7 separate regions of the Homo sapiens genome follow, and all the other regions are linked to region 1. Evidence: promoter capture Hi-C in 16 types of primary human blood cells and fetal thymus (Javierre and others, 2016). All regions are on one chromosome and are shown on one strand. Each heading gives the region's core, a stretch centred on a gene start or on the middle of the fragment in contact. The rest is flanking DNA. Distances are from core to core; before and after follow the strand shown. Region 1 holds the start of COX7C (cytochrome c oxidase subunit 7C). Region 2 has its middle 76 kb from the start of LINC02060. Region 3 has its middle 59 kb from the start of LINC02060. Region 4 overlaps TMEM161B-DT (TMEM161B divergent transcript). Region 5 overlaps TMEM161B (transmembrane protein 161B). Region 6 overlaps TMEM161B (transmembrane protein 161B). Region 7 has its middle 120 kb from the start of TMEM161B.

What was found. Contacts are between HindIII fragments. The CHiCAGO score rates a contact against its expected background, and 5 or more counts as called.
Region 2: a contact is called between a fragment that was not itself captured here and the fragment with the promoter of COX7C in region 1, in 1 of 17 cell types (non-activated CD4 T cells). The highest score is 5.8, in non-activated CD4 T cells.
Region 3: a fragment that was not itself captured here is called in contact with the fragment with the promoter of COX7C in region 1 in 2 of 17 cell types (non-activated CD4 T cells and total CD4 T cells); the score reaches 9.8 in non-activated CD4 T cells.
Region 4: a contact is called between a fragment that was not itself captured here and the fragment with the promoter of COX7C in region 1, in 8 of 17 cell types (total CD4 T cells, non-activated CD4 T cells, activated CD4 T cells and 5 more). The highest score is 21.6, in total CD4 T cells.
Region 5: a contact is called between a fragment that was not itself captured here and the fragment with the promoter of COX7C in region 1, in 8 of 17 cell types (non-activated CD4 T cells, total CD4 T cells, total B cells and 5 more). The highest score is 26.8, in non-activated CD4 T cells.
Region 6: a contact is called between a fragment that was not itself captured here and the fragment with the promoter of COX7C in region 1, in 3 of 17 cell types (total CD4 T cells, activated CD4 T cells and non-activated CD4 T cells). The highest score is 6.8, in total CD4 T cells.
Region 7: a fragment that was not itself captured here is called in contact with the fragment with the promoter of COX7C in region 1 in 1 of 17 cell types (total CD8 T cells); the score reaches 5.7 in total CD8 T cells.

The regions. Positions count from the first base shown.
Region 1 is chr5:86,616,366-86,619,470 of GRCh38, forward strand. It overlaps COX7C (cytochrome c oxidase subunit 7C), which reads left to right and starts at 1,576. Exons shown (of 3, transcript NM_001867.3): 1 at 1,576-1,765; 2 at 2,988-3,105. The coding sequence starts at 1,691. The coding sequence ends at 3,104. RefSeq lists enhancers at 1,244-1,323, 1,335-2,000, 1,387-1,681, 1,614-1,703, 2,001-2,666. The HindIII fragment of the contact is 5,230 bases long and covers 1-3,105 here.
Region 2 is chr5:88,513,086-88,516,190 of GRCh38, forward strand. No RefSeq gene overlaps it. Among named protein-coding and RNA genes, the nearest start is that of LINC02060, 76 kb to the left of the region's middle. The HindIII fragment of the contact is 7,891 bases long and covers 1-3,105 here.
Region 3 is chr5:88,496,682-88,499,786 of GRCh38, forward strand. No RefSeq gene overlaps it. Among named protein-coding and RNA genes, the nearest start is that of LINC02060, 59 kb to the left of the region's middle. The HindIII fragment of the contact is 195 bases long and covers 1,494-1,688 here.
Region 4 is chr5:88,278,755-88,281,859 of GRCh38, forward strand. The region is part of intron 2 of TMEM161B-DT (TMEM161B divergent transcript); the gene reads left to right. Among named protein-coding and RNA genes, the nearest start is that of TMEM161B-DT, 11 kb to the left of the region's middle. The HindIII fragment of the contact is 164 bases long and covers 1,590-1,753 here.
Region 5 is chr5:88,259,335-88,262,439 of GRCh38, forward strand. All of the region lies in intron 1 of TMEM161B (transmembrane protein 161B), which reads right to left. Among named protein-coding and RNA genes, the nearest start is that of TMEM161B, 8.0 kb to the right of the region's middle. The HindIII fragment of the contact is 4,836 bases long and covers 1-3,105 here.
Region 6 is chr5:88,239,049-88,242,153 of GRCh38, forward strand. TMEM161B (transmembrane protein 161B) reads right to left here. Exons shown (of 12, transcript NM_153354.5): 2 at 1,765-1,868. Among named protein-coding and RNA genes, the nearest start is that of TMEM161B, 28 kb to the right of the region's middle. The HindIII fragment of the contact is 1,744 bases long and covers 746-2,489 here.
Region 7 is chr5:88,146,329-88,149,433 of GRCh38, forward strand. No RefSeq gene overlaps it. Among named protein-coding and RNA genes, the nearest start is that of TMEM161B, 120 kb to the right of the region's middle. RefSeq lists an enhancer at 1-198. The HindIII fragment of the contact is 192 bases long and covers 1,460-1,651 here.

The sequences.
Region 1 (3,105 bases), core at 326-2,825:
AGGTCCCTAAAGAGTTAACTCAAAGCCAGATACCCAATGGAGGCTCAATTAATGTGAATTAGAAGCAACAATGAACCAAATCCACAGATAACATTACTCACACTAGATTGAAAAGTGTAATCTAGAAATATTAAGTGTGAAAAAGTTTCTCAATTATAGTTAAATCAGAATTCTTTAATATGTAAAGGCAGTGAACGGAATGTTAAAAAAAAATGGAATGTCACATAACTTCTATAAATTAGGTGGTAGAGGACACCAGTTATGATGCATTTCATGAACCCCTACTCAAAAAGAAGCTACTTGTTGAAACAAAATATGAATTTAAGTGTTTTTTTTAAGTGTTTTTTTGGGGGGGAGGGGCATGGTTGTTCTCTTCCAAAAACTGAAAAAAAAAAAAAAAAAAAAGACGAAAAGAGCATATATGTTATGCCCTTTTCAAAGCAAACCTTAGGTCTTATTGGAATTGTTTCCTAATGCTATATAAATGAGACACGTGAGGCAATATACACTCCCCCACAGATGAATAACATAACATTTAGGTTACCAGGGCCTTTCACAATCTAACCTAACACCACTTTCCCAGGTTCATTTATCACTGGTTTCTTCTCAATACCTTCTGGTCAAAGACCACCAGAAGCACACATGTAATTGACAAACGGGGTTTATTATTCATTGCAGTAAGGGTTCTCTGTAAAATATTAGAAAATGCTTATTGGATTTGGGATTTTTTTCTCCTAATATTGGCTACCTTACCAAATCTTAGGAGGAAGAAAGGCTAGATCAAGGCTAAGATTGTAATTGGTAAAGAAGCAGAAGTCATCAAATTAAACCAGATAGGGTGATGTCCGGTCATTTTCGTGGCTTGGACAATGTTTTATCTGTGTTCAGATGTGATTACACAGTGATCATATTCTTTTCTTAATGAACACTGTCAGAGTGGTCTTGTTGGATGCTAATGCTTGCTGAAATTGTGTACGTTCATCAGGCGGACACCAGTTCCTAGTCCAGGCTAGCTCCAGGTGTCAGAGGCCACTTTTCCCTTCTACTCCTCACACATGCTGTACTCATACCAGACTTGAGTTTTCCCTGCCCTTTGTTCTTCCTTCTTTTTTATTCGATTCCCATTATCTTTAGTGATCATTCCCTTAGCATTTCAGTTTTCTCTCTGAAGTCCTTTGTGCTGCACGTTGTTTGATTACTTGTGTTTATGCTTTGTTTCTTCAGCTAGGATCATTAGCACATATCTCTCAGCATTGGCAAAAGTCCTCGAAATCATTGACACCTAGCATATACTTTATTTTTAAAAAAGAAAGAAAGAAGAGAAAAGGGATGGGTTTATTGTCCTTTTCAACAGACTAGAGTATACGGGGTGAAACTGCTTCACTTGATTCAATAAAATCGTTTCCGGTAACAGGCCCCAGGAATCCTAGACCTAAGCCTGGCGCGAAACTACATTTCCCACAATCCTTCGGGGGCTGATAAGGCTCCGCAATGGTCTGAACTACAATTCCCACAATCCAGGGCGATTTCCGCTTTGTCGCGTTTCCTCAAGGCTCCGCCCCATTTCCCATCTTTCTTTTCAGTCCTTGCGCACCGGGGAACAAGGTCGTGAAAAAAAAGGTCTTGGTGAGGTGCCGCCATTTCATCTGTCCTCATTCTCTGCGCCTTTCGCAGAGCTTCCAGCAGCGGTATGTTGGGCCAGAGCATCCGGAGGTTCACAACCTCTGTGGTCCGTAGGAGCCACTATGAGGAGGGCCCTGGGAAGGTTAGTGTGTAAGGGGCACGGCTTCGTTGGGGGAGGGGGCGCTTGGCTGTGACTCGCGCACCTGCAAGGCCGCCTCCGGGCTGTGGCGTGGGAGATGATAGCCAGAAACCAGGCTGAGACGCAGACTAGCATTCCACTTAGCCCAAGGACCAGTGAGGAAGCTGGGCATCCTAGCGCGTAGCCGCTAAAGGAATGGGCAGGTAGATCCGGAAGCCCTGCCTCCATCAGCCACCTGACGCCCCCTCCCCCGCCCCGCAGAAAGCCCTGAGATGGCTCCGGGAGGCCACGGCTGTAGGTGTGTTGGTTAAATCCGAGCTGGAGGTCATCGGACCCGAAATGAAGGTCATTGGAAAATCATGAGGAAATCAGGGCCTCTGGTTATGGAACAGGCTTTTTAAACTAGCTGCCTAAGTTAGAAGTACTAACCCTTCACCTCAGTTAAGGCTGGGTTTGGCCTCAGGTGTAAATAACTTAAACCACATAGCAGTAACAATCTCGGAGGGTCACACGAGGCCTAGTCATAAAGGCCAGAGAAGGTGCTTGGTAATGAAAAACAAACAAACAAAAAAAACTGTGGGCCAGGTGCGGTGGCGCACGCCTGTAATCGGGAGGCTAAGGCGTTCGGATCACCTGAGGTCAGGAGTTCCAGACCAGCCTGGCCAACATGGCGAAACCCTGTCTCTACTAAAAAGTACAAAAAAATTAGCCGGACGTGGTGGTGTGTGCCTCTAATCCCAGCTACTCGGGAGGCTGAGGCAGGAGAATCGCTTGAACCCGGGAGGTGGAGGTTGCAGTGAGCCGAGATCGGGCCACTGCACTCCAGCCTGGACAGAGCGGGACTCCGTCTCAAAAAAAAAAAAAAAGAAAAAAAAAGAGCTGTATTGCACTTAACATTGCCATGTATCTTCTAAGGTGACTACTTAGGACAGTAGTTTTTTCGATTTTCTAAAGTAAGAAACTTCTCACTATTTGACGTTTGAGTCCTCAAGACCATTCATTGCCTAGTGCTTAGTAAAGCCAGATTATTTCTTGCCATGTAGTGTTTTGTGATGAAGGTCATAGGATTTGAAAGATAAATGTTTAAAACGATGTTATGATTTATGGCATATGTTAACCTGATGATGTAAAATATAACTAGCATTTCCTGTATACTTGTATTTTGATTATTAAGCAGATGATTTGAGATTCAATTTCGATTACTTTTTCTCTTTTTTTCCAACAGAATTTGCCATTTTCAGTGGAAAACAAGTGGTCGTTACTAGCTAAGATGTGTTTGTACTTTGGATCTGCATTTGCTACACCCTTCCTTGTAGTAAGACACCAACTGCTTAAAACATAAG
Region 2 (3,105 bases), core at 301-2,800, 1.9 Mb after region 1:
AATTCCCAAATAAATCATTCTAATTGTCTAAGTACATTAAATCATCTAGGCTACTTGGGAAATCCAAATCACAATTCTTTTTATTTTGTGAGTATAATACAGAGAATTTTATATCAAAATTAAAAACGAGAACAAAATTAAAAATCCCAAATAATGTGGGTAACTTCTCAAACTCTTTTAGTCAAAGTGCAACCAGGAGAGAAAATGTAGTGGTTTTCCCTTTATCAGTCTCAAATTTATCGGTTTAAGAAGTCCACCTATTTCTCACATGTTTTATTTAATGAGTAGTCTATGCTCAACCACTCTGTATATATTCTTTGCTATTTCATGAGCTTCAGCTATATCATCTCAGCCTTTGCCTCTCTAGTCTGAGGAGACACACTAATTTAGTCTTTCCTCATTTCTTTGTTCTTTATTTTAATTATAAAAAGTAGCCTGAATTGGACATTTGATAGTTTTTAGGTTCTCATGTTGGATATATTTTCTTAGTAGATTCTAACTAATGTTGGGAGTACCAAGAAATCTAGATTGAACTGAGTTCCTTCTTTAAAACTACAACTCAATCAGAGCAATTGCAATGGTCCCAACTCTCAGTTCCTTAACTCCTCTCCAGAACCTTTTTTTTTAAAGGCCATCTTACCTCTGTGCTTATCACAGGACCACTGGGCTTCATGCAAATAGCAGAAACAGTCTTATGGACACTAAAGTTTTCAGGACTACTTGGTGATTTTAAATTGCAGTCTGTGAATTTTCTCTTGTCCAGATATGCAACTTCCAGGGGTCATGTTTGAATGAATATCTCAGTGATTCAGATGTCTCGTACCCCCTTAGATATATTTAGCAGAGGATTAATCAGGCAGGTTGTCATAGCACAATGACCATTACACTTGGAAGTCATCCTGACTCTCTCACCAGCCATCTTAATGACTAGAAAACCAGGGCTTTGGGATCCATTTTCTTCTACTGACAAGCAGAGAATTAGGAAATGGTTTTCAAATTCTTCCAGAGAGTCTTTGGGATTTCTTTGGTGCCCTTTCCCATGCCATTAGGAGATGGGAAGCAGGACGAGTGATTGAATGGATGGAGGTTTGGGCACCATGCTTCCCCACCAATCCCCATAGCATCTCTGTTTTCCTCTGCTTTATGTATTTGGCTTCCTCCCAAGACTGTTTAAATCAAGAATTTCCAGGAGGGAAAGAAAAGGAAAAGAAAGGAAAGGAGTAAAGAAGAGAAAAAGAAAGAGAGAGAAAGAAAGAAATAAACAGAGGAAGGGAGGGAGGGAGGGAGGGAGGGAGGGAGAGAGAGAAAGAAGAAGAAGAGGAGGAAGAAGAAGAAGAAGAGGCAGAAGCAGAAGCAGGAGAAAGAAAGAAAGAAAGAAAGAGAGAGAAAGAAAGAAAGAAAGAAAGAAAGAAAGAAAGAAAGAAAGAAAAGAAAGAAAGAAGGAAGGAAGGAAAGAAAGAAAGAGAGAGAGAGAAAGAAAGGAAGGAAGGAAGGAAAGAAAAGAAAGGAAGAAAAGAAAAGATAAGAAAGAAGGAAAGAAAGAAAGAAGAAAGAAAGAAAAAAAAAGAAAAATCTGGATGTGTTGGCTCACACCTATACTACTGACTCTTTGGGGAGGCAGAGGTAGGAGAATCACTTAAGGGCAGGAGTTCAAGACCAGCCTGGGTAACATAGGGAGACCCCATCTCCACAAAAAAAGAAAAAAAAATTAGCAAGACATAGTGAGGGGTGCCTATAGTACTAGCTACTCAGGAGGCTGAGGCAGGAGGATCTCTTGGGCCCAGGAATTTAAGGTTACAGTGAACTATGATCTCACCCCTGCACTCCAGCCTGGGCAACAGAGCGAGATCCTGTCTCTTAAAAAAAAAATGGAAAGAAGTAAGGAAGGAAAAGGACCAAAGAACTATATAATATCTGGTAGCCCTGGGATGTGTAAACATCTATCATTATAGACTTTACAGTAGTAGTTTAAATTTGTATTATATGCAAACCATTTATATTGTGTAAAATTTATATTCATTTCCCATGTAATTCACATAAAATTTAAAATGCTAATTTTTCTATCCTATCTTGGTGATTTGCTGTATGCCAGAAAGTTTGCTAAGGGATTTACTCATATATCACTTTCCATTTAATCTTTACAATAACCTTTGGGGTAAGTATCATTATGCCCATTTTATGAATAAGCAAACTATGACTTAACTATGGTTAAGCAATTTGCCCAAGGTTTCAAACCCAGTGTTTTAGATCATTCAGTCTGCTACAACAAAATACCATAAACTGGGTAGCTTATAAACAACATTTACTTCTTACAGTTCTGGAGGCTAGAAAGTTCAAGGCATTGGCAGAGTTGATGTCTGCTTTCTGATTCTTTGCGCTGTGTCCTCACATGGTATAAGGAACAAGGCATCTCTCTTGGGCCTCTTTTATAAGGGCTCACCCTCATGATCTAATCATCCCTCAAAGACCCCACCTCCCATTATCACCACATTGGTGATTATGTTTCATCATATAAATTCTGGGGAGATACAAATATTCAGACCATAGCACCTGCTAAGTGACTTCACTAAAGTTCAGACACAATTCCATCAGGTTCCACAGATTAAGTTCTTAAGCCGTAATGCCTCTAAAATATTTCTCTGAACAGAAGCCATTCACATGGACGATAAATACAACTCACAAATACAACTCCAATAGTCACATTACAAAAGAACAAAAATTTTATTTCAGGAATTACAATTTAAAAATAAATAAGGAAAAAAAGCTGTACAATTGAAATTTTGCTTTGTAGGAATTCAGTTTATTATAACAAACTAGGGTTTTTCACATGTACATTGTGTCTTAGTTTATTCTGGCTGCTATAAAAAATACCATAGACTGGGTGGCTTATAGATAACATAAATTCATTTTTCATAGTTCTAGGGGCTGAGAAGTCCGAGATCAGGGTACCAGCAGATTCAGTGTCTGAGGGCCCAAAACCTTGTAGGCAGCTATCTTCTCACCGTAACCTCACATGGTGGAGAGGGCGAGAGATCTCTCTGGAATGTCTTTTATAAGGGCACTAATTCGTTTATGAGGGCTCTGTCGTCATGACCTAATCACTTT
Region 3 (3,105 bases), core at 341-2,840, 1.9 Mb after region 1:
CTGCCTAATTATTTTTTTTCAGGTCAAAATTCAAACTCCTTGTCATGATCTTTGCAATCTGTTGGTAATCCCACCGGCTTAATCCTCCAACCTCGTCTCCCATTTCTGGCCTATGGTGGGAAGAGTACACACAGAGAAACAATATTTGTTGAGCACATACTACAGGCTGGCATTGTGTCAATTGTATTATTTCTGTTATCTCATTTTGTCATCACACAAATCTACAAGGAAGAAATTATTAATTTCAAGCAATTCATTTTGATTCAAAGGAGGACACTGAGGCATAATCAGCTACAAAGATGACTGAACACAGACACTGCTTCTGATCATCCACACCTGGATTCAGACTCAAGTCTAAGTAATTCCAACACCCTTTCCATCCTGTAGTCTCCTTACTTGGAGTGATCAAACATCCTGGTTTACCTGGGACAGTTCCTTTTTATTTGTATTGTCCCAAAATAGTGAGGAAAAGCACCCCTTTCACTCTCAAAACTATCGTTCTGACTTTGTTAGTGAATTGCATGGCCACTCTGCCTATACTCCAAATCTACCATGCTGTCACATGTTTCTGGAATGCAGTATACTTGCTCATGATTCCATTTCTTTCCCAGTGCTGTTTCTTCTGCCTAGAGAGTTCTTCCTTTCCCTTTGTCTCCCGGGAAAAATATGTCCCATTCTCAGGAATCAATTTCTTCACTGTCTCTGGGAAGTCTCCCCATTCCTCTAACTTCAGACAGGGGTCAGTACCCTCCTCTGTGCTCCCCATACTCCCATGTTACTGCTATTCCTTTATACATTTTTGAGTACTTGGCTGTCCTCTCTATCAGCCTGTGAATTCCTTAAGGTTTGGACTGTACCTTAATTATCTGTATATCCACAGTGCCAATAATTTTGCATGGCTCAGAGAAAATCTTAAATATTTGTTGAATAATGGGATAAATGAAATAATAAATTTGAAAGATCTAGTCATTTGCAACAATTACTATAAAAAGTAGAAGCAGTCTCTTCTAAAAAGAGTGAGCCTATTCTAGCTAGATCTGATTTACTGTACCGGGAGGCTGCTTAAGTTCTGAACAGTTGTTCAGAGAGCCTCTGACCCTGCATCAGCACTCATACCCAGGCCGTCCTGTTTTATGAAGTGGTCCTCCTGTTTGGAGTCTGAGATATTGTTCCCAGTTTTCTGGACTGCTCTCTACTTCTATAATGTGCCTCATGCTCCATTTAAATATTTTCCCATATTTGCTTAAGCCTGTGGTTAAGAGTCAAACCCTGGGTTTGAATTTGTGCTCCACTATTTCTTAGATGAGTGACTATGTGAAAACCTCTTAAGTTTCCTAAGCCACAATTTCTCCATAAAAAATTAGTAAAATTGACTGTATCTCATCTAATTAAGTTTTCGAAAGTACTTAATATAGTAGCTGGAACTTAGTAAGAATCCATAAATATTAGTTATGATTTTTATTAATAGTATTATTATTCCTTCATCATGCCTAAGCTTTCCTACCAGACTGAAAACCTTGTTTCCTCCAATGATCTATTTTTGTCCTTTAGGACTCATTAATTTTAGATATCTCAATATATGTTGTATTCCCTGAATAAGTCCAACAGACTGTGAATGACTCTAGATATTCCACCACTTCTCTGGGCTCCTACTGTCTCCTTGCCTAGCACTAATGCTATTCCATAGAAGCTTTTTAAATCAACCTCTTTAACTGACTCATCAGATTAACTGACTGTCTTTGTATGGTTCCTCTAGAAGACAGAGCCTGAGGCAGGGATTAAAGTGATGACACTATGGACATATAAGCCCAGGGTAATAAAGATGAAGAGAAAGAGAGAAGTGAGGCAATAAAAGACATGGAGTAATGCAAATCATTATCATGATGGTCACCACTTCACACAGAGTTCAAAAGAGTTGACAACAGTACACCGGCAGACTTAACTCAGCACAAAGGGACTTCTTCCTAAAAAGGTTATAAGGAGAAGCTTACCTTATTGCTGTCCATGGAATGAAGAAAGGAGAGATTCACCTGTGAGAGGCCTCCCATCTCTCATTTCCTATTGGTCATGATTCATCACACAAGGGGACATCTCCCCAGCACTGCCAATGGACTCTTAGGTCCCCTGGTAACCACTCAGGAGGCCAAATCCCATGCTCGCAACATGGCATTTTATTCATATCTAAAGTGGAAGGGTGACTTGGTACAAGTAAATACCACCTGAGAAAGAGAAGAAGAAATGTCAACTAGGGGATCTGAGAAGATACACATGATTTGTGTCCAATATACTGATTCTCTAGGCCTTGTCTAAAAGTCTCAAAACTCATGATGAGTAGGCTATTCTCTAGAATTCTCTAGTCTTGTGCTTTAACTTGATGAATTACATGCTTGTAATAATCACTTATGTTTATTCTTAAATTTTTTCTGCCATTTGTGCTTGTTATTTGAATTATACAATTATTTAATTAAATACCACACATTAGTAAAATATGAGTGTGACAAGAATGAAAGGTGCTTGTATGGAAATGAAAAAGAGTATTTTGGAAAGACTTAATAAAGGTAAGTCTCTTGAAAAAGGTTTGCTAAGAGAGATGAAAGTGAAATATTTGCAAAGGGCAATGTTAAGAAGCCAGAAGAGTCTGCAGTCATATGGTTTCACCCATGCCTTTGCATTCTTGCTGCATGGAAAAACCCTGCACAAAGCATGATCTATTTGGTATTGCATGAAAGACAATATGGAAATCCAGTCAGCACACTCATCATTGAAGAAAAGTCCTGGCTAACAACAACAAAAATATTGGTCATTTTATATACATTTTTATTAAAAATTAAAAAGAATTTTAAATTACAATTAAAATTAAAAAGAACATTTAATTATTGTTTAAGATTCTTTGCTTTAACCAGCTCTTTTGATTTACCAGCTATAATAGCATGGCTTGATTATGCTGTGGTAGCAAACAACCCCCAAATCTCAGTGAACGATACGACAAATCTTTATTGCTTGCTCACCTTAAATCTGCAGGCTCTGAAACCTATCCTCCATGGGTAGCATCTGAAGCACTTACTGTATGAAGCATGTGTCATCCTGGGTCAATATGGAAAGGAA
Region 4 (3,105 bases), core at 422-2,921, 1.7 Mb after region 1:
AACTGAAAAGCATCCTTCTGGCCATAGATGAGACCATTTGAGTGTCAATAAGGACAGTAAATGCAATTGATTGGAACATATCAAGTGTCTTTAAATCTGAGTACATAATGATTGTAAAACAAACAGCATTTAGTTGGTCAACAGTAGAAGATGCTGTTGCATCAATTCATTATTTTGAAAATCAGTTTTGTTTTGTTTTTAAAGTAATTAGGCATTTGTCCTGCCTTTTGTATGTGAACTGTAAGTAACCACATAGTAGATGAGGAGAGGGTTCTCTTTGTACATGTATTCTAGCTAATAAATGGAGGAATGATAGAAAATTGCCATTTTGAAATTCCTAATGAACAAATGGATTTATTTATTGCATTTCAACAGCTGCTAACATGACAGACAAGAAAACATATGTTTCTTAATGGAAAAACACCACTACTGATGTTAAAATCTTATCAAAAATTTGACCCTGATACTAATCAGGTCTTTAGATCCATCCAATTTGCAGAAAATATAAACACCATTAAAACTTTAAGCCAATGAAACCTACCACAACGTAATATTTTGGAATGGAAAATATAAATGAAAAATCCAATTTTGGAGAATATTGGGACAAATTAATTTCAACAAATATGTTGCAGGAGAAAAGGAGACGAGAAGGACAAGTGGAGAAAACCGTAGATTACAAGAGACTTAGTTCAATATGAAGCAACCTGTGAACTTGGATTAGTTATCTTACTGTATAACAAATCACCCTAGCTTAAATCTAAAAATATTTATACACTTTCTTAGGATCCACAGGTGGTTTAGCTAGATGTTCTGGCCCAAGGTCTCATGAATTTGCAGTCAAGATGTTGGCTGGGCTGTAGTCTGAAAGTTTGACTGGTGTTAGAGGATCCACTTCCTAGAGGGCTCATTCGTAGAGCTGCCTGTGTTTTCTCACAACATGGCAACTGGCTTTCTCTAGAACAGGTGATCCAAGAGAGAGACAGAAACCATGATCATTCAGAGTGATGTAACATTACTTCTACTATATAATGTTAGTCACACAGACATTTCCCTGACAATATGTGGGAGGAGATTACACAAGAGCATGAATACTGGGAAGCTAGCTGTCACAATTTGGCCCCAATGATTGATAGTTCTTGATTTGCAAAATATATTCATCCCCTCCAAAAGCTCTCCAAAGCTCTCATCCTATGACACCATTAGTTCAAGGTCTAGAAATCTAAATCAGTTCCAATTGTGGATGACACTCATAGGTGTACTTAAGTACAGCTCCTCAAGAAGAGTTCTTTTTGATCTGAAGACTCATACACTAAAGACACAGTCTCTGCTTCCACATGTAATAGAAAATGAATAGGATAATAAATGTGGACATGTATATTTAAAAAGAGGGAATATTGGAGGTACATAGGTTCACAGAAATTCTGAAACCCACCTGGGCACAGATTGGCAGTTGCTTGGTCAAGTTTCAAGGCCTAGAATTCTCTTAGCTCTGCCTTCTGGGATCTTGGATCTACTCACTGAGTCACCCTTTCTTTTTCTTGTTTACACTTCTGCCTGCTTTCTGCCTATAGAAGCTTGGATGTCCCACAAGCTTCTTTCCATTTGGTTCTCTCTGTGCCTTTCAGTCCAGGCTGGCCATGTTTCTGCTAATAGACTTCTCTTAAAAACTTTGTGGCTCACTTGTGAATTTTGAGTTCACTCCATCAGACAAAAGCAACAACCACACATCTCGTCCCACATAAACTCTGCCTCAAGCTTTTGCTGATGAAAATACCCTTAAACTTTTTAAAAACCTGTGATGTTATTCAGAGATTTTCTGAGACACATCGTTTGTCTGATGAAAATACTCTGAGGCACAACTTAAGATCTTTCTGAGCTATTAAAGGACTTTATAACTACAGCCTCAACTTTATGTTTTACTGGCAGTGCCCTAGATTTGCTTTTTGCTCAGAGATATTCCCCAATTTTAGCACATTTGTCATCTGCACAGGCTGGGAATCTTCAAATCCAGCAAGTTTTGACTTGTTTTTGTTTGTTTGTTTGTAATAGAGTCTGTTTTTTGCTGTGTTGGCCAGGTGATCTTGGACTCCTGGCTTCAAGCATTCCTCCCACCTCAGCCTCCCAAAGTTCTGGGATTTTAGGTATAAGCCACCATGCCCAGCCATGGCTCCTTTTTGTTTAACAGTCCTTACTTTGATGGTCTCTCTTCTCACACATTTTACTATCAGCAACAAGAAAAAATACACATGAAATATTTAACACTTGGCCGGCAATCTCCTTTGCTAGATCAATGAGTTAATTAGGCATTTTTTCTACTTTGTACATATCTGTGGATAACAAATTTGCTAAACTTTCTGCCATTATGTAACAAGGATCTCCTTCCCTCTAGTTTCCAAGAAGAGTTTTCTAATCTGTTAAGATGTCACCTGCAGCCTCCTCAAAGGTTATCTATTATGCTTCTATAAAAAATTTCTTCAAAGCTCTTCAAACTTTCATTAACACTCTCCTCCAAGTTCTACCTTCTGTTCACTGCCAGTTTTAAAACCACACTTACATTTTAGGTTTTTGCTAACACCCCACTTCTGAGTACCAAAATGTATACTGATTTTCTATTGCTGCATAATAAACTGCCCCAAAATACAACATGCAAAGCAATAAATATTCATTATCTCATGTAGTGTCTGAAGGTCAAAAATCCGGAAGCAGCATAGCTGAGTGGTTCTGATTCATTGTCTCTTGTGAAGTTATCAGTCAAACCATCAGCTGAGACTGTAATCATCTGATGTTTTAACTAGTACCAGAGGATACACTTTCACATGCTATTGGCAGGACACTTTAGTTCTTCACTAGCTGTTTAGCAGAATACCGCACTTCCTCACCACATGTACCTCTTCATAGAGCTTCCTGGCTTCCTCTAAAACAAGTAATCCAAGAGAGAAGCAGAAGCCACCATGGTTTTTTATGCCGTTGTTGACCTAGCCCCCAAAGTGACATATTATTACACAGATATGTAGCCAACCTGTGGGTCACTGATACGGTTTGGATGTGTGTCCCCTCCAAATCTCATGTTGAAATGTGATTCTCAGTGTTGGAAGTGGGGCTGGT
Region 5 (3,105 bases), core at 206-2,705, 1.6 Mb after region 1:
CTCTACAAGATTACATTCTTCTTTGCAACCTGAAGAAGAAACAAAGTTCTAATTGAAAATAGCCCAAGTGGAAAGAAGAGTCCTCAGGAAAAGAACTGGGATAACCGTGAGATAGGCTTGGAACAAGTGTAACTCACTAAGTGCTTACACTGATAAGAAATTCAAGTTCAGCACAACTCATCCCCAATTTCTCAAATTGCTCTTCAACTCATCAGTGTTACTAGAAGTGCATCTTCAGGCCTAAGAGAAACTAAGGCTTTGGTGTAAAGCAGTGCCTTCAGTGGATGCAGTTAAGGTAGAAGAAATATGAAAGAATCTTATGACTTACTGCAGCAGTGGCAGATGTGTTTGACACCTAGTTAAAAATGTCAATCAGTACTGCTATGCCGGATAGTAATGATTAATTGCTTGAATACTATAGAGATATATTAGGTGTTAACTAGGTTCGGGAAACATTTTCTAAAAATATCGTTACTAATTATGATTTCTATAGGAAAATGTTTTTGAATTTCAAACACTAGATTGAACTTGTGAAATTCAATTTTTTCATAAGTGAATCTTACTCAAGACAAACAAAAGACTGGCACAACAGCACAAGGGACAAGAAGCCTGGGTTAAAAGTCAAATTCTGTCATCTCTAGCTGTGTGATTTTGGAGAAGTTACTCCAATCTTGCTGAGCCTCCATTTCTACATCTGTAAGATAAAGGTTTAAAAAAACAGAATTTAACTACTTCATAAAGATTTAAATGAGTCAATATAAGTGGAATGTAGAATAATACCTGGTAAATATTAAATGTAAAATAAATGCAGCTGTTATCGTTATTGAGGAAAAGTAAAATTCAATTTCTTACCCAACGGACATACTTCTACTTACCCTCAAAAATCTAATCCAAACCTTTCTTTATGAAACCCTTCTTGAATTCCATAGAAACTGAATATTCCTCTCTTTGTATCCCATAATGTACATTCAGCTAAATGTTCAACAGTATTTCCAAATTTACATAATCAGAATCACAGAAACTTGAATCAAACTATAAAAATCATAGAATTCTAGTTCAAGCACACTTTCAATGCCATGTATTTATTTTTACTTTTCAAATAGTCATTTTTAGTTTTTATTTTTGTGTTTTATAAGAGTCAGGGTCTCACTCTGTTTCCCTGGCTGGAGCACAGCAGCCTGATGACAACTCACTGCAATCTCAAACTCCTGGGCTCAAGTGATCTACCCACCTCAGCCTCCCAAGTAGCTGGAACTACAGGTGCTTGCCAGCACGCCTCACTAATTTTTAAAACCTTTTGTAAAGAAGAGGTCTCACTATGTTGTCCAGATTGGTCTCAAACTCCTGGCCTCAAGTGACCCTCCTGCCTTAGCCTTCCATGAGCCACCATGCCAGGCCACTTTTCACAAAGTCATTTTTAGAAATAGCAGCATACAAGCACATCGATTTTCATAATGATTAAGAATTTTTTTAATTGAAATAAGATACTGAGATCCCAAGTCTCAAAGTAGCAAAAGTTTAAGTTGTTTCAGGTTTTCTAAATCTTATAGTTTATAGCCAAAACACAAAAGATATTTAACCTACTTTAACAACAGAACTACTACGTCTGTTTTATATAATTAAAAGATGTGAACATAAAAATCATTGGGTAAGTGAGTTGTAATTGTATTCTCTAAGAACTGCAATAACTTAAAAGACTAAAAATAGGTGGCATATCCTGGAACCAATAAGCAATTATAGCAAGGTTGCAGGATACAAAGTTAATATACAAGTCAATCACTTTCCTATATATTAGCAATGAACAAGTGAAATTTGAAATTAAAAATACTATTTACATTAGCACCCAGAAAAAAATGAATACTTTGGTATAAATCTAATAAAATATGCCAAGACCTGTATGAAGAAAACTACAAAACTCTGATAACTGAATTCAAAGAATAAATAAATGGAGAGATATTCCATGTTCATGAAAAGGATATTACCAAGGAGGCAGTCCTTCTCAACTTAATCTACAGATTCAATGCAATTACAATCAAAATCCAAGCAAGTTATTTTAAGGGTATCAAAAAAAAAGAAAAGAAAAGAAAAGAAAGAAATGTTCTAAGGTTAATTTGAAGAGGCAAAAGACCCAGAAGAGCCAACACAATACTGAAGAACAAAGTTGGAGGACTGACATTAACCAACTTCAAGATTCACTAGAAAGCTAGAATAATCAAGACTGTGTTATTGATGAAAGAAGAAATAAACAGATCAACAGAATAGAATAGAGGGGCCAGAAATAGACCCACATATAGTCAAATGATCTTTGACAAAAGGGCACAGGCAATACAATGGAGAAAAAAAAAAAACAAACAAATTTCACCAAATGGTACTGAAACAACTAGACATTCATGTGCAAAAAAAAAAAAAAAAAAAAAGACTCTAGACACACACCTTACACTCTTCACAAAAGTTAACTCAAATAGAACATAGACCTAAATGTAAAACACAAAGTTATAAAAGTCCTGTTAGATAACATAGATGGCTGTGGACAAGGCAACAACTTTTTAGACACAAAACCAAAGGCATGATCCATGAAAGAAAGAGCTGATAAGCTGGACTTCATTACAATTAAAATCTGCTCTGTAAAAGACAATGTCAAGGAAATGAGAAAACAAACCAGACCAGGGGAAAATATCTGCAAAAGACATATCTGATAAGGATTGTTATACAAAATATAACAAACTCTTAATTAAAACTCAACAAGAAAACAACCTGATTTTAAAAATGCACCAAAGACCTTAAAAGACACCTCACCAAAGACATACAGACAGCAAATAAGAATATGAAAAGATGTTCCACATCATGTCATTAGGAAAATACAAATTAAAATAAGGAAATACCATTATACACCTATTAGAATGGCCAAAATCCAGAACACTGACAACACTGAATGCTGGCAAGAATGTAGAGCAATGGGAACTCTGATTCATTGCTGGTAGGAATGCAAAATGATATAGCTTCTTTGGAAGACAACTTGTGGTTTCTTACAGTCTTACCATATGATCCAGCAATTGCACTTGCTGGTTTTTACCCAAAGGAACTGAAAACCTTTGTCCACACAAA
Region 6 (3,105 bases), core at 368-2,867, 1.6 Mb after region 1:
TTCTTTTTAAAGGCTGAGCTTACTCTCAAATTATCTATGTATATTACGACACATTCTGATCAGAAAAAGATTTTAAATATAAATCTTCCAATATTAATAAAGATAATCAGCTTTTTGATCTCTCAGGCTTTAGTTTTCACTAGTGAGTATAAATTTTATAGAAATAGATGGAAAACAGAATATGTAACAAGATGAAAATGCATGTACACTAAAATGGGACAAGATTGTCAAGGTCTTTACAGACAAAGGAGATAAGGAAGTGACATTACATCATAAACATAGTTTAGAAACACGCAATTCTCAAGAGAAAGTAAGCTGCCTTAATGTATGTTACTTAGTTTACTGAGACCCTTTTTACTTCAAATTAATGATAATTTGCCCAGCTCATGTTCATCTTTTCCTGATCTTCGAAAATGGTTTTGCTAAGCTAAATCAGTAAACAAGATTGCACAGGCATATTAAGCCTACACAGTAAAAAAATAGTTAAAGATTATTTTCACTTATTTTACACTTTACCAAAACTTTAGCCATTATTTATTTTGTTCCTCAAAATGTGCATTTGTGAACAGCTCTCTCACACATTCAGTATACACACACACACCTGTGTATCACATTGTTCCAAAAAAATTTTAAAGCAGTCTGAATAATATTTTTCAATATTAAACATCAATATGGAAAAAGTAGAAAGCACAGAGAAGAATACAAATAATTTAAAATAGAAAATAAATTATGTGAAGGAAATTTAAGCTTTGTAAATGGGATGACCCTGAATGAAAAGCGTATTTGTCTTGTAGAACATGAAATCATTACTAGGACAGGTATCCATTGTTTTTCTAACTTCAATAGGCCTAACCAAAAGAAAGCAGTAACAAAATTTGGTTATTTAACTGAAATGAACAATTGAAATAAATAGTCATGGTACCAAATTTATCACTTACCTTTCACAACTACACAGGATTTTGGCATGTATTTCTGTGTGCAGACTTTCCTTGATTTCTCCCCACTGTATCTATACCTATACTTTTTTAATCTAATTTTGTTGAGGGGTGGGAGGTACATGTTTCAGCAAGCCTACTTAGCTCCTTTGTGGAAGGAGTAGGGATTGTGAGCCTATGGTGTAGTAGACAAAATTAAAATCCCACAACATAACTTTATCCCCCTCCTTGCTAAATTAAACAGTTTAAAATTCTTTGCAGTAAAACTATGAACTCCTAATATCTGTATTATAATAAATTCTGGACTGAGCCACCAATAGAATATATGCTTTCAGTATTTTCTTCGAACAATAGCAAAAATACTTAAGCACTTGGATTTACAATTTCTCACCCCCTTGTTGATCAAATTTTTTAAAGGTAATTAGAAAAATATGTGGTGTTTTCAGTGCCCACAGACCGAAAAAGAAAGAAGGTAGGGGTGGGAGGACTGAATTCTTGTCCATGACCCTATTACCTTTGTGCTAAACAGATAAACTACTAATATCTCAAACTAAGAGTAATAAGGAAGCTATAATGAGGCAATCCCAGAACTTTGGGAAGCCAAGGTGGGAGGATTTGCTTGAAGCCAGGAGTTGAAGAATAGCCTGGGCAACATAGCAAGGTCTTGTCTCCAAAAAAAAAAAATTAATTTTTTAAGAGAAATAAGAAAGCTAGATTTTTCTTATGACTTCCTTTTGTTAAAGTTTTAGAAACAGTAACTAGGAATTTAATCAGTTTGGTAAACTAGAGATTGAAAGTGTCAGTTGAAATCAGCCTATCCTTGCCTTACCTGCCATTACAGAGTAGCCATCGAGCAAGAGAATAGTGAGGTATAATCTTCTGCATGACACTGGCCATCACCATGGTAACAACCAGCTGTATACCTATCACACCCTGTGTAAAAAAAACAAACAAATTTAATAATGAATGATTTTGGATTTGGGGACATTGCTGGAAAACTTTCTGTACATTTTGAAAATTACATTTTAAGAAAAATGAGTTTACTATTAAAATACATTACTCTCAGCCCTCCATATCTGCAGGCTCCACAACTGCAGATCAAAAATATGCAGGAAAAAAATACAGTAAAAAATAATACAATTAAAAATATACTACAAATTTTAAAAATAGAGTATAACTATTAACATAGCATTTACATTGTATTAGGTATTATAAGTAATCTAGAGACGATTTCAAGTATATAGGAGGACGTGCATAGGTTATATGCAAATACTATGTCATTTTATATAAGGGACTTGAGCATCCTCAGATTTTGGTATGGGGTGGTCCTGGGACAAATCCCCTGTGTAGACACTGAGGGACAACTGTTAAATTCTGGCAATTAGGTATTCAAGATCACATAGTCTAATATAAACTTAAAATGAATTAGTATACACATCTATAATCTATTCTCAAGAAATGTTCTGCATAAATTAAGGATATCAAAATGAAGTGGAAAGCGATTTCTTCATCCTTCTCCAATTTACTCTACACACTAAAAACATTAGCTTGACAAGCTTTAAAAGTAATATGCCTGGTTTTAATCCTAGGTGGTAGTGATCACAAACCATTAACTATACGAAGTGTGATGGCAGAACTGGCCTGAAAGTCACTAATAAAGAAAACTGAACTCATGCTGTTACCACCCACTTCCAGTGAATGGGTCTTAATGTCCAACAATCCTCTTAGTTTACTCTCATCAATCCTTCCCATATTCTCCATGATGGCTAATTCAAACCTTCTTTCCTCTCTTCACATCTCCAACCCCCTTCAAACGTCTAACTCTCCACTCGGTAGAGGACATCTACTTTACAGGAAAAATAGATACAATCAAATGGGAACCCTCTCACTTCCCACCAATAAGCTCACAAAGTCACTTATATCTACATCTGTCTTTTCTTAGACCCCAGAAATAATAGAGCATCTTCTATAGAAAGCAAATCTCTCTATCTGTGCTTTAGAGCCCACTTTCTTTGATTTTCAGGAACTTCCGCTATTGAATAGTCTTCCTCTATCTTCTTTAATCTCTTTTCTATTTTGAATCCTTCCTATCAGCATTGTGTAATACCTGTAAGTCTCTTTCATTTTTTCTAGAGAATAACAGTAATTTCCCCGTTCGACAGCCTTCTCT
Region 7 (3,105 bases), core at 306-2,805, 1.5 Mb after region 1:
TTGTTCCAAAACAATAGCGGTTCCAGAGGAGGCAGCAATGCCTCAACAGGACAAACTGAGGATCCGCATTTGCGTTTCTCAGAGAGTGAGTCACAGACCGACTGTCAGGCAAATGCTGGGGCCCCATCACCTCCAGGTGATCCTTTACAGAAGTTTCTGGTACATGGCTACAATAATATTGCAATATTAAAATCCTTTCTAATAGCACCTAATTTATTTCCTATTTATTCTGCTTGCTTGTATGTGGTTTATGAACTGAAACCACCTGATTGTTAACAAATGTATCGATTTAACAATTCAAAAAGTATTTCCATTTTCAAATACTTTTCCCTTGAAAGTAATGTTAACATTTCTTGAACTTAAAGCTTCATGAAAATTGCTTTCAAAATTTTTTGTAAATGTAAATATACTGTATTTTTACACAGTTGAGTTAGAAATAGCTGGTATTTTAAAAATATAGACATATTAATGGGCATTTCTTAATTTAATTCCTCCTTTTACTTCATAATGTCCCAATATGTTGAAGCAGAAATCAGAATAGATAGTATTGACAAGAAATGTATCCTTTAAAAGTCAAATTTGTCCTTTAAATTGGCTTTTCTCATAAAGCAGCTCTAAAGTTTAGTATATGTGTATAAATTTATGCATACAACATAATATAGTCTTTTCTCTGCTATTAACTAGCCAGGGAAATTCAAGTCTTTTATTCTTAGTATGTCACAGCTTTTTTAATTTGAGATATCTAACTAAATAATCTCCAATTCAGAAATTGTAGAGTTTTTGAAATATTTTACTTTAATGTATTCTGCAGTTATATAAAAATAACAAGGCAATAATAATATCAAAATTAAAATTTCCCCGGAATATTTTACATAATTAGAACCAATAATACTCTGTGTTTTCACTGTCTACAAAGACTTCCTAACCTGATCCATCACTCCTAATAGTCTAAGAGTCCATTAATATACAGTAAGGATGAAAAAGAATTGTGTATCTTTATGCATATATCTTTACTTTTATGTAAAGGAGGTCATCTCTTTCACTGGATACCCAGTGAAATTCATGATTCAAAAAAGAACCATTGATCTACACTTGAAGCCTTCATAAGTGAGAACACAACCACCACCACAGCAATCATTGCATTTACATTTTGGATATAAGTAATAATTTTTCTAGACATCCTGGAATGTAAAATGTTGGAAAGATCAGTAAGCTAAAAATGAAGAGATTTTTAACTCTGGGTCTTCCTCTAAATGTCTAGTGACTTTAAATGAGATGCCGTATTCTGCTGGGGCCTAATTTATCCATACAATTAAGAAATTGAATCAGATGAGCTCCCCAAGTCCATCTAGTCTTACAAGTCCATAAAGTTCTGGACACTGTGCAGAGTAACTGGATCTGTCATTATTCAGTGTTTTTCAAAGCAAACATCACAATTTAGGCATAAGACTATGCCAGAAGCTTTACTTCTTTGTGATCTTATTTGCACCTTACTGTAGCTCTTCCTTTGCATGGATGAAATGATTAGTTCTTAAAGTAATTTAAAGGTATCAAACGAGATGTAAAGTTCTTCACTGGTACTGCTTGTCGTTGTAGGAAATGATGTTCTCAGAAATGTTGTTATCTATAAGAATTTCATGCCCCTAAAACAAGCTTAAATTTTCCTTCAGCTATTGAAGTTGGTAAATTAATACCTTTGATAATTTTATAACTTTCTATGGAAGACAGCTGGTTCATTTCAGTGGTTATAAGAATCAAGAACTACAAAAATATATACTCTCTGATAGTATTGTTGAAGCTTTTTCTCCGGTAACAAAGAATCTTTGCTCAATTCTTCACCCCTTGACCCCGATCTCACCTCTATTCCCAATATGCAGTCCTCACCTAGACCCATTCTTCCAGGCTGATGCTGAGTTTATTTACTCTAAGCAACATTTTCAGGAATCAACATCAGCAGATTACTACAATGAACATTTTTTTTTAGTTCAGCCTCAAGTCTATGAAATTAATTTCCATTTTGATAATCACAAGACTTTCCTTGGAAATATCAGTGACTGCACAAGCCATAGGCAGATCAAGTGTAGATGCTCCATCATCTGAATAGGGTTGGGTTATGTTTTCAATTGGAACAAGGTATTAAGTGATTAAACTGTGCCAGAGGACACAGCACTTTTATCAAGCCCTTTTCTATCCAAGCAGGCACAAGGATAGTCAATCCCTGGCCCTGAAAGTCTACAAGGAAAACTTGGAATGCTTTAGGAAATCGTGTTTATAATTAAAGCACTGGCATTTTTCTTCTCATTACAGAATAAAGGCTGAATACAATTTTTGAAACTTTACCTTTTTTTAATTTCAATTAAGCTGCTTAAGATCCTCTTGCATTCATTGACAGGATTTTTGGCCCATTCTGCTATTCTAGTCCACAACCGTTTAAGTGTTAAATGTTAGCAGATTACAAGTGACTAACAGTGGAATATTCGGAATTCTATATGCCATTATTTTAATTCCTACCACAGCTAGCATTCACACAAGATAGAAGTTCAAAAACCAGTTTGGGCACTATATTTTGCCCATCTTCTTGTAGATATAGTTAGAACACTGATGTGTCATCACCTTATTCCTCTCAGCATACCTGGCATGTGTCTGAGAGAATGAGTGAATTAAATGAATGAATAAATATGCAAGGTACCCAATGTCTATTTGACTATTTAGACCTGCGGAAGAAGTGGCAGCTTTTTAGTGATTACTAGCGTGGGTTCTATATTATAAATGTTCTTAAATAAAAATACAAAATGAACACAATAAGACACTAAGTATATGTCATAAATCTGAAATAAAATTGCTAAGCACTCCATTATCATAAAATTCTTTTTAGAAGTCTTCCAAGAGAGGGAAATTGGGGCAAGTAAAATCAAACTTACTAGGAAGGCCAGAAGGTTACATTGTCATGCACTGTTCTTAGTGCTTTGTGTGGATTATCTCATTCAATCCCCCCAGAAAAACCATCTGAGGCATGGACAATAATGACCATTTTACAGGTAAGGACAGCGGGGCTTAGAGAGGTTAACCCACTGCTTAGCATCATATGATATTGATGACTGGCAT